2 separate regions of the Homo sapiens genome follow, and region 1 is linked to region 2. The links are contacts of gene promoters, found by promoter capture Hi-C in blood cells and fetal thymus (Javierre and others, 2016). All regions are on one chromosome and are shown on one strand. The core of a region is centred on a gene start or on the middle of the fragment in contact, and the rest is flanking DNA. Distances in the headings are between cores, read along the strand shown.

The links. Contacts are between HindIII fragments. The CHiCAGO score rates a contact against its expected background, and 5 or more counts as called.
Region 1: a contact is called between a fragment that was not itself captured here and the fragment with the promoter of LCE1F in region 2, in 9 of 17 cell types (naive CD4 T cells, M2 macrophages, total CD4 T cells and 6 more). The highest score is 7.5, in naive CD4 T cells.

Annotation. Positions count from the first base shown.
Region 1 is chr1:152,817,124-152,822,000 of GRCh38, reverse strand. No RefSeq gene overlaps it. Among named protein-coding and RNA genes, the nearest start is that of LCE1B, 7.6 kb to the right of the region's middle. The HindIII fragment of the contact is 1,302 bases long and covers 837-2,138 here.
Region 2 is chr1:152,773,039-152,777,708 of GRCh38, reverse strand. LCE1F (late cornified envelope 1F) reads right to left here and starts at 2,569. Exons shown (of 2, transcript NM_178354.3): 1 at 2,519-2,569; 2 at 685-1,359. The coding sequence starts at 1,337. The coding sequence ends at 981. The HindIII fragment of the contact is 9,364 bases long and covers 1-4,670 here.

The DNA.
Region 1 (4,877 bases), core at 238-2,737, 45 kb before region 2:
TCTCAATATGAGTGGAAAATACATGCATGCAGTGTTTACCAGGAAATCCTTTTAAGTTTGTATCTGTGTAAAATATTTTATTTAAGAAATTTATACATATGTAAAATTTAACACATACTTATATAGTAAGGTATTACTCTATTATATTTCATATATATTAAAATATTTCAAAAAATTATTTTACTTAATTTTGTTTTCCTCTTCTCTAGCAAAATATTTAATTTAATATGCATGTATTTGTGCTTATTTTTCTTTATAATTTCTTTAATTGTTTTTATATTGAGAATGTTTTTCTCAATCCTGGGAGAAGATAAACATTTAGCTACAAGTACTTCTTTCTTTATAATTCGATTTCCTCAAAATATTTAATCCCATGGATTTTGTCTTGGCATCTAATACTAAATGAGGGTTTACGTTTTTTTTTCAGTTATCAAAATTCCCTAACTCCAGGTATTGAATAGCCATCTTTTCCCCATTGATAACCATCACCTGCATCATCATATTTTAATTCTTTGTGTATATATACATATATATAGAGAGAGATTTAATAGTATATATATGTATACATACATATGTGTATACATAGATACGTATATGTGTATATATACATACATATATGTGTGTGTGTATATATGTGTATATATATATATATATATATATACTATTACATTCTTTTTTTTTTTTTTAAATTTGCACCAGTCTCAAGGTTTGGGGTTTAATTATGTGAAAGTTACAGATAAGTATTTTATCAGAATGGGACTTGTGGTGGATAAGAAAAATCCTCTAGATTTCCGGCAAACAAAAGGAAGAAAGAGAATTTCCTAGGACTAGAAGCTTAGGATCCTGCCCTCTTTGTCCTTTCCCTGGGAGGAGCCTGCAGGTGAGTCCCTGATATGGGGGATATACAGAATGAGGACCCGACTCTTCCCTCAGGAAACATGGAGGAAATGAAACCAGTTTTGTCATCTAAGCAAAGATGAGTTTCTAGTTCCTCTGCAAGCATGGGTCAAATGATGCATGAGTGCTTTCTATGACCAGATGTTGATCACATTGTCAAGACCAACTGTTCTTAGCCATTTATCCACTGTCTAAGAGAAGATTCTGGAACCAAGGCTGAACTTCAAGAAATTCACCCTGGAGAGGCATCACTCACATCACAGATAGAGGGGAGACACTAAAATGCCCAAGAGTGGAGGAGTCAGAAATTGGATTCTGCTTCCTGGTTGCTCCAGTATCAGAAGGATATTGCGCCTACATGTCAGACTGAGCCTTTTCTTTGTTCTCCATTCAGAAAATACATTTAGAAAGCTGGAGAAGGACAGACATTAGGTGGGGAATGAGTAGAAGGACCAGGCTCCCTTTCTCTGGTATGGTGGGCCAGCCCACTGGAGCAGGGATATGGGCAAATATGCCATTCAGTCAAATTTGGGGCCGGGGAGAGTGGCTTGTGCCTGTAATCCCAGCACTTTGGCAGACCGAGGCAGGCAGACCTCTTGAGGCCAGGAGTTCGAGACCACCCTGGACAACAGGCAAAATCCTGTCTCTAAAAAAAAAAAAAAAATACAAAAATCAGCCTGGCATGGTGGTGTGCATCTGTAGTCCCAGTTACTCAGTAGGCTGAGGTGAGAGGATCACTTGAGCCTAGGAGGTTGAGGCTGCAGCGAGCCATGATTGCACCACTGCACTCCAGCCTGCACAACAAAGTGAGACTCTGTCTCAAAAAAAAAAAAAAAAAATCAATCAACCAACCAGTCAAATTTGGCGTTGATATTGTTTTTCTGACTGGATATTTCATTACTGAACTGAAACCAAGTTTGTAATTTTTTTGTTTTAGAAATGGGGTCTTGCTTTGTTGCCGCACCTGGTCTCAAACTCCTAGGTTCAAGTGATCCTCTCTCTCGGGCCTCCCGAAGTGCTGAGATTATAGGCAGGAGCCACTGCACTGGGCCCACGTTTGTGATTTCAAGTAACAAATCATTTTGCATTACTTTGAAAGAGCTGTAAAGTCAGTTGGCCTTTCAACTTGTCATTTAGGAAGGAAAACCATCCCACTGAGTAAAATTTTAAGGACAATTTTACTTTTAAAATTTTTAAATTTTTAAAAAGCTATAATTTTATTACATCCTCCAAGCTAAGCTTGCTCAATGTGAGGGTTGTAGACAGATTTTTTAACATCCACCAGCTTAAGAAAACACACAATCGGATAAGATTTCATAGAAGGATGACATTTGAGGTGAACCTTAAAAGAGGGACAGAATTACACAATGTCCAGATGGTGGGGAGAGATTTGGAGGAACTTCAGATAGAGGAAATAGCAAGTAATGCTGCTAATAGTAATAGTAAGTAATGATTACAGTAGTTAGTAGTGATACTAAGGGTAGCAGTAGTAGTAGTGGCAACACTTATAAAATATCAAGAGAAGCTACTCTTTATTGAAGACTTATAGTATTCTAGATACAGAGCTATGAATAGTAAATTCTACTTACAGCTTCTCAGAAAAAAAAGGATGAATATATACAAGTGTAAGTTATGAGTTGCTCAGTGCGGCAAGAACATGGGGTGTCATGGGAAGTATGAATGGTAAACCTTAGAAAAGAAGTTGGAAACAATTCCTGCTGAGTCTCAAATGTAATACTTAAGAAGCACATGCATTTTTCTATAGAAAGCCTCTGTTTTGAGGAAGTAGAGTGACAATTTCAGACATGTGGTATAGGGAATGTGTTCTGGAAAAAAGTGCAGAGAATTTAATGGAGATGGAAGAGGAAGAAAGAGACATTTAATGGAAGGTTAATACAAGTGCAATTTTTACACAAAGATATGCCTCGAACTAAACTGATTTCAGAAGTAGTTAGTGGGAAAACTGTATTTTCAAAATATATTTCTGTTTTTTGCTTTCTATTTTATTAATCTATTTTTCTTTTCTTTTTTCTTCCATATGCATGCATCCATGTGTGCATGCGTGCGTGTGCACCTGTACTTGTGTGGAAGTGTGTGTATTTGCATGTGATGTGTGTGTATGTGCATACATGTGTGAGGGAGGAAGGATGTTGGGTGGAGCTAGGTGAGGAGGAGAAGGTGGCGCTCACAGAGGGAGAGGAGCATGGAGAGACCAGTCAGGGCCTTGAAGGGGACCAGAGGCAAAGAAGCTGTGTTTACAAAAGACATTTCAGACTTGGTCACAAGCAATGCTGCTTCAGGCCAATTGACATAGGACAAACAGCGTTGGAAGTCCCTTCCCACTCCTGCCCTCATTGACCCCAATTCAAGCCAGTGTGTCCCACTGGCCCCTGAAGTTCCAAGGCCACCACCTGCAGAGGACAGGGTGAGGAGAACAATAGCTACTCAAGGAGAATAGGGGAAGGGGTATGTGCAGAGAGCTCTTTAAATGAGCAAAAAATGTAAGATATTTGTGTTCCATATGAATGTTTACTAAACAATAACCTTAGCAGAGACTTTAATAAATAAGTGGATAGGATAACCTATTCTGTGGATACCAGTCAGACTCTTTGCCCAGCCTCTCCTGTCATTTCCCAATGAGCTCATGAACAAAGTGGCCATGGTGGCAGGTAAGACAGTGAAGTTGTATTGCTGCCCTTGCCAGCTGAAAACAACCTGATTCTGGTAGTCATTACTAATAGGTAAGAAGAAAAAAAATCCAGATCAATAGCTGCATAATAGGGGATATGCTAATTTGCTCAAGGAAATACCACATCTAGTACATCTGTAAATGGAGTCACCCCCTGGCTAGGCTTGTAATAATTCAGTGTATTAGTCTGCTCGAGCTGTCATAACAAAATACTATAAATTAGGTGGCTTAAATAATAGAAATTTATTTCTAGTAGTTCTGGAGGTTGGGAAGCCACCAAGGTCAAGGTGCCAGTCGATTTGTTTTCTGATGAGAGCTCCTTTTCTGGCTTACAGATGGCTACCTTCTCATATCTACAACTATCTGATCTTTGACAATCCTGACAAAATAAGAAATGGGGAAAGGATTCCCTATTTAATAAATGGTGCTGGGAAAACTGGCTAGCCATATGCGGAAAGCTGAAACTGGATCCCTTGCTTACACCTTATACAAAAATTAATTCAAGGTGGATTAAAGACTTAAATGTTAGAGATTTTTTTTTTTTTTTTTTTTTTTGACAGAGTCTCTCTCTGTCACCCAGGCTGGAGTGCAGTGTCGCAATCTCGGCTCACTACAACCTCTGCCTTCCGGGTTCAAGCAATTCTCCTGCCTCAGCCTCCTGAGTAACTGGGATTACAGGTGTGTGCCACCATGCCTGGCTAAGTTTTTGCATTTTTAGTAGAGACGGGGTTTCATTGTGTTAGCCAGGATGGTCTTGATCTCCTGACATTGTGATCTGCCCACCTCGGCCTCCCAAAGTGCTAGGCTTACAGGCATGAGCCACCACGCCCGGCCAATCTAAGCTTTTTAGAGCTCTTCAAGGATGCTGAGCCTCGCCTCACAAACATATGTTTCACAATTGTGATGAAAGGTGAATCATTTGGACCTTCCACGGTGGGTGATTTGTCATTTCATGACAAATTCATTCTAATATTCCAATCTCCCTAATGCTCTGAATCTCTTCCTCTGCAGCAAAGCAAGGCAGGCCTGTCATTTCTAGGTCACACACACTAGGCCACCTTTCAGTCCATGTTTTGACCAGCCAACCAAACAAACTCTTAGGGCCTTTTCTTACTCCCCGAACTGTAACATTGCCTAGAATCTCTGCAATCAGTTCAGCCTCATCCAATCTTTTATTCTTTCCACAATTGTTCCACACTCTTAATATCCATTCCCACATGTATTCCCTAAATGTCTGTCTGTAAACACTGTAGTTCTTTTGGAGTGTAGTGCTCCCTTGTCATGGGTCACA
Region 2 (4,670 bases), core at 1,320-3,819:
CAGAGTGACAAGGACCAGGCTTCCTTAGATTCCCTTAGAATTCTCCAAGTCACCCCAATATTACTTCTCACCCCAGCAGGAGCAATTTATCCCTTTAGCAACAGTGGTTCCAGTGTGCAGTTTTTCCCGCTCACAAAACCAACCTTGTTGGGTTCTCATGGAGACAGACCCTAGGGCCAGCACCAGCTTGTGCCCCTCCTCAGAAGCCTGAGTCCAGACACACAGGGCCCCTCCTCTGAGCTCAGGGACCCCGGCACCCATGAGAAGGGCCCCTTTCCTAGAGGCCTGAGTTTCAATTCGTGGGCCACTGCTCCAAGTTTCTAAGTTTTGATAGTTTCAAGACACTCCCTTTACCTGCCATTGGTAGCATGGTGGCAATGACAGTTACCGCCTCCATGAACTCTTTTTGTCCTCTATTGGTCTTGTCAGTTCTCTGATGCCAAGTAAGCAAATTTTTATGTAAACTTCTGTCTATTAAAGTACATCTCATAATTCTCTTTCCTGACTTGACCCTGGCTGAGGCACTGAGGGGCGAGGGTCAGCTCTGGTGAGGACCAGGAGTTGAAGGAGTTAAGCAAGCCATGCTGCTTCAAGGCCCAGATAACCGGGTGATGGAGCTGAGATAAGACATGCTTATCCCTCTGTTCACATTTACAAGCAAGAGTAATGCAGTCTAGAAAAAGGTGATGAGCAGATTATTTGTTTTATTGTTTCATGCACAATGGAGATTGCCAAGGAAATCAGGGGAATGAGGCAAGGACTTCTATTTGGTATTCCCAGGCCAGGCGCACAGATGGAATCAGAGGTCAGAAGAGGAATTCTTGTGAGAGGGCAGATTTCTGGATTCTAGGTCGGAGGAATCTTCCAGGACAGAGTTTGAAATCTTTACTAAAATGTCCCAGCAACACAGTCAGTCCCAAGGAAGATGAAGTTGCCCCTTTCATGCCTCTAAATCTGCTCTTTTAGGCACAGGGTCCACTTCAGCAGCAGCCTCCAGAGTGCTGGCCACTGCCCCCTCCGCAGCAGCTGGAGCCCGCTGAGGGCTGGCTGCAGCAGTCAGAGCTCTGGGGTCTGTGGCGGTGGGACCTACGCCGTCTGTGGTGGCTCAGGCAACAGCCGCCTCCCCCAGAGCTGCAGCAGCCACCACCCCCAGAGCTGCAGCAGCCCCCAGAGCTGGAGCCACAGCAGCCTCCGGAGCTGACGCTGCAGCAGGAAGAGACAGGAGGGCACTTAGGGGGACACTTTGGGGGGCACTTCGGTGTGGGGCACTTGGGAGGGCACTTGGGAGTGCACTTGGGAGGGGGCTGGCACTGCTGCTGGCTCTGCTGGCAAGACATCTCGGTGGCGGGTGTTCAGGAGCTGAAGGAGGGTCAGACAGCAAGTTAGATGGAGGCAGAGGACACCCCTGCCTATTCTTGTCCTTTCTGCATTATTTCTAGATCCTTCATTTTGAAAGCCTTATATCAAACATAGGAAAATCACCTCTAATGTTTTTATCACTCTCAATGTTTACCAAGTGCTTTCATTCATGGATTCTCATTTCAAACCTTATTTGAGATGTTGTCATGCAATATATAATCTCCAAATATGTAAATAAAGTTTCTGCTCATTAAAAGCTCCTAAGTGTGGGAGAGAAGTCCAGGAAATAAATTGGCTCCGGGCCAGCATTCATTCTATCACATCACCAAGAATTCTGAAAATGTTCAATGTTGAGACCAGTTTAGAGATGAAAATCTCTTTAAGGAAAAATCAAAATAAATTTCTATTGGAAGAACTGATATATTTCAGTTTGCAGAAATAGAGAAAACTATAACCGCAAAGGATGTTGGAGTCAATTTGTTCCAACCAACTCAATATATAAATAAAGAAACTGAAGCCAAAAGAGGTAACTTCACTGGCCCAAAGTTATTCATTAACAGTCACATTTGTTCCGGGGTCCCCTGGTTCCCATCCTGGGCTCTGCCCTTTAGCACATCCTGCCTCCCCAGGCCTGTCCCCAGGCACTGTCACATGGCTTTTAAACTCCAGTGTGCACTCAGTTTTCCACTACAGATCTTCTTGTTGGCATCTAACAAGATCCACAGGTGTCTTTGATCCTTTCTTCCTCTAAGTAGCAGTGTTCTCAGCATATCTTTTCTAAAAGTGAGTATGTCTGTATTTCCAAAATTATATTCCCACTATGCAGCCCACTCTAGCAACATCCAGTGGCCAATGTGTTTATTCTCTAAAACCAGAGAAACACACTGAGCAACTGAAAACAATTTGGTTCCTCTAAATCTGTGTCATACAGCCCTTCAGATCTTACCAGTTCTTCTTAATCTCTCTCACTCCACCCCACCCCTCTACCTCCTCTTTCCAATTTTCTGCCCCCACCCCATTCCTTGCCAATCACAATTCCAGGCCCCTGAGGCCCTGCCTAGACTCTACTCCTGCCCTGGTCTGAGTATCCATCCCCTCCTTCCCTGGCCTGGGCATCCCTCTGTGGAAGCCCCTGCTCCTTTTTCCAGGGCACACTTACCAGGATCACAGGCAGCACAGGGTTCTTCAGCACCGCAGGAGGTGAGTGGATGGGATGCTCTGGCCCTGAGCCCTTTTATTCTGTCCTTGGGTGCTGCCTCCAGCGGTGAGACAGAGCCTGGGCATGAGAGGACCTGCCTCCCGACACCCACATAGGTCTTGTGACGAGTGGTGACTGGCAGTTCTGCATATACCGTCCTTCATTGGTGTTCAGGGGAGCTGCTGTCAGCTAGGAAAGAGCTTGGTGGAAATGGGGGCTTGTGGTGGGTGAAAATGGACATCATGGTTCCTGGAGTCCTCCGTGGCCTATTTCCTATGAAGATGGCTCTCTTCACAGTCTTGTAGTCACACTTATGAATTCTGCACAAACAACTCATTTTTCCTTCTATTCTAGATACTAATTTTCCATCTAGACCTTTGGGTCCATATAGCTTGGTTAAAAATCCACATGCCTGCATTATGGGGTTTGTCCATGTGCACATGGGCATGTGTGTGCATCATAGAAGTCGAGAAAAGAGGCCTTGGAGACCCTGGCAAAGTATTCAATATTTTTGGCCATTGGCTTTCTGATGTTTTAAATGAAGATAATAAGAGAAATATCTTTTCTGCAGGATTTACAAATTAATTAAGATAACAAAGGGGAAGTAGCTGAGATAGTATGTGGCATGTGGTTATAATTAGGAAATGGATGAATAGGTAGATAGATAGATAGATAGATAGATAGATAGATAGATAGAAAGAAAAATAGAGGCAAACCTGAGATTTTAATGGACATTGGGAATTTTTAAAGTCACAGGTGCCTTTTAAGTTAGGTGGCTCTTATTAAAACTAAAGGCCATTTTTTTTTCCTCCTACGTACCTCAGTGAATAGGGCTTTCTGAAGGTAGATCCAGAGTGGGTATAAGAAAAGAGGACTAAAGGATGTATATTGCCCCAAATTATAGCATAAAAGAATTTGCAGTTTCCTGAGGAAAAGCTGAAGGGATGAGGTAAAATAAAGATGAGAAGGGTGAAGAGAAGAGAACAGCCAATGAGGTGGCTTTGAACTGTGACTTGGAGTGGTGTAGTTGGTATAGACAAGAATAGACATAGTCAATATTTAATTTGAAATTATTGGCTTTGTTGCAATACACATTTCCTGGGTTTAATTTCCCAGTTTCCCATGCTCAAAACTAACCAAATGCAAAATCTAACAATAAAAAACCAATATTTGAAAAATAAATATGGTCAAAATTACATATAACATCAAAGAATTATTGGATGGTTTTAGCAGATTATAAGTTGCAGAAGAACAGATCGGTGAACTTGAAGAAATTGTTCAAACTGAACTGAAGAAAGGGAAAAATATTAAAAAAATGAACAGATGATCAGTGACCAGTGGAATAATATCAAACATTCTAGCACCCATGTATTTAGAGTTTCAGGAAGAGAACTACAAACCACTGCCCAAGGAAATAAAAGAGGATACAAACAAATGGAAGAACATTCCATGCTCATGGGTAGGAAGAATCAATATCGTGAAAATGGCCATACTGCCCAAGGTAATTTATAGATTCAACGCCATCCCCATCAAGCTACCAATGACTTTCTTCACAGAATTGGAGAAAACTACTTTAAAGTTCATATGGAACCAAAAAAGAGCCCTCATTGCCAAGTCAATCCTAAGCCAAAAGAACAAAGCTGGAGGCATCACGCTACCTGACTTCAAACTATACTACAAGGCTACAGCAACCAAAACAGCATGGTACTGGTACCAAAACAGAGATATAGAACAATGGAACAGAACAGAACCCTCAGAAATAATGCTGCATATCTACAACTATCTGATCTTTGACAAACCTGACAAAAACAAGAAATGGGGAAAGGATTCTCTATTTAATAAATGGTGCTGGGAAAACTGGCTAGCCATATGTAGAAAGCTGAAACTGGATCCCTTCCTTACACCTTATACAGAAATTAATTCAAGATGGATTAAAGACTTACGTGTTAGACCTACAACCATAAAAACCCTAGAAGAAAACCTAAGCAATACCATTCAGGACATAGGCATGGGCAAGGACTTCATGTCTAAAACACCAAAAGCAATGGCAACAAAAGCCAAAATTGACAAATGGGATCTAATTAAACTAAAGAGCTTCTGCACAGCAAAAGAA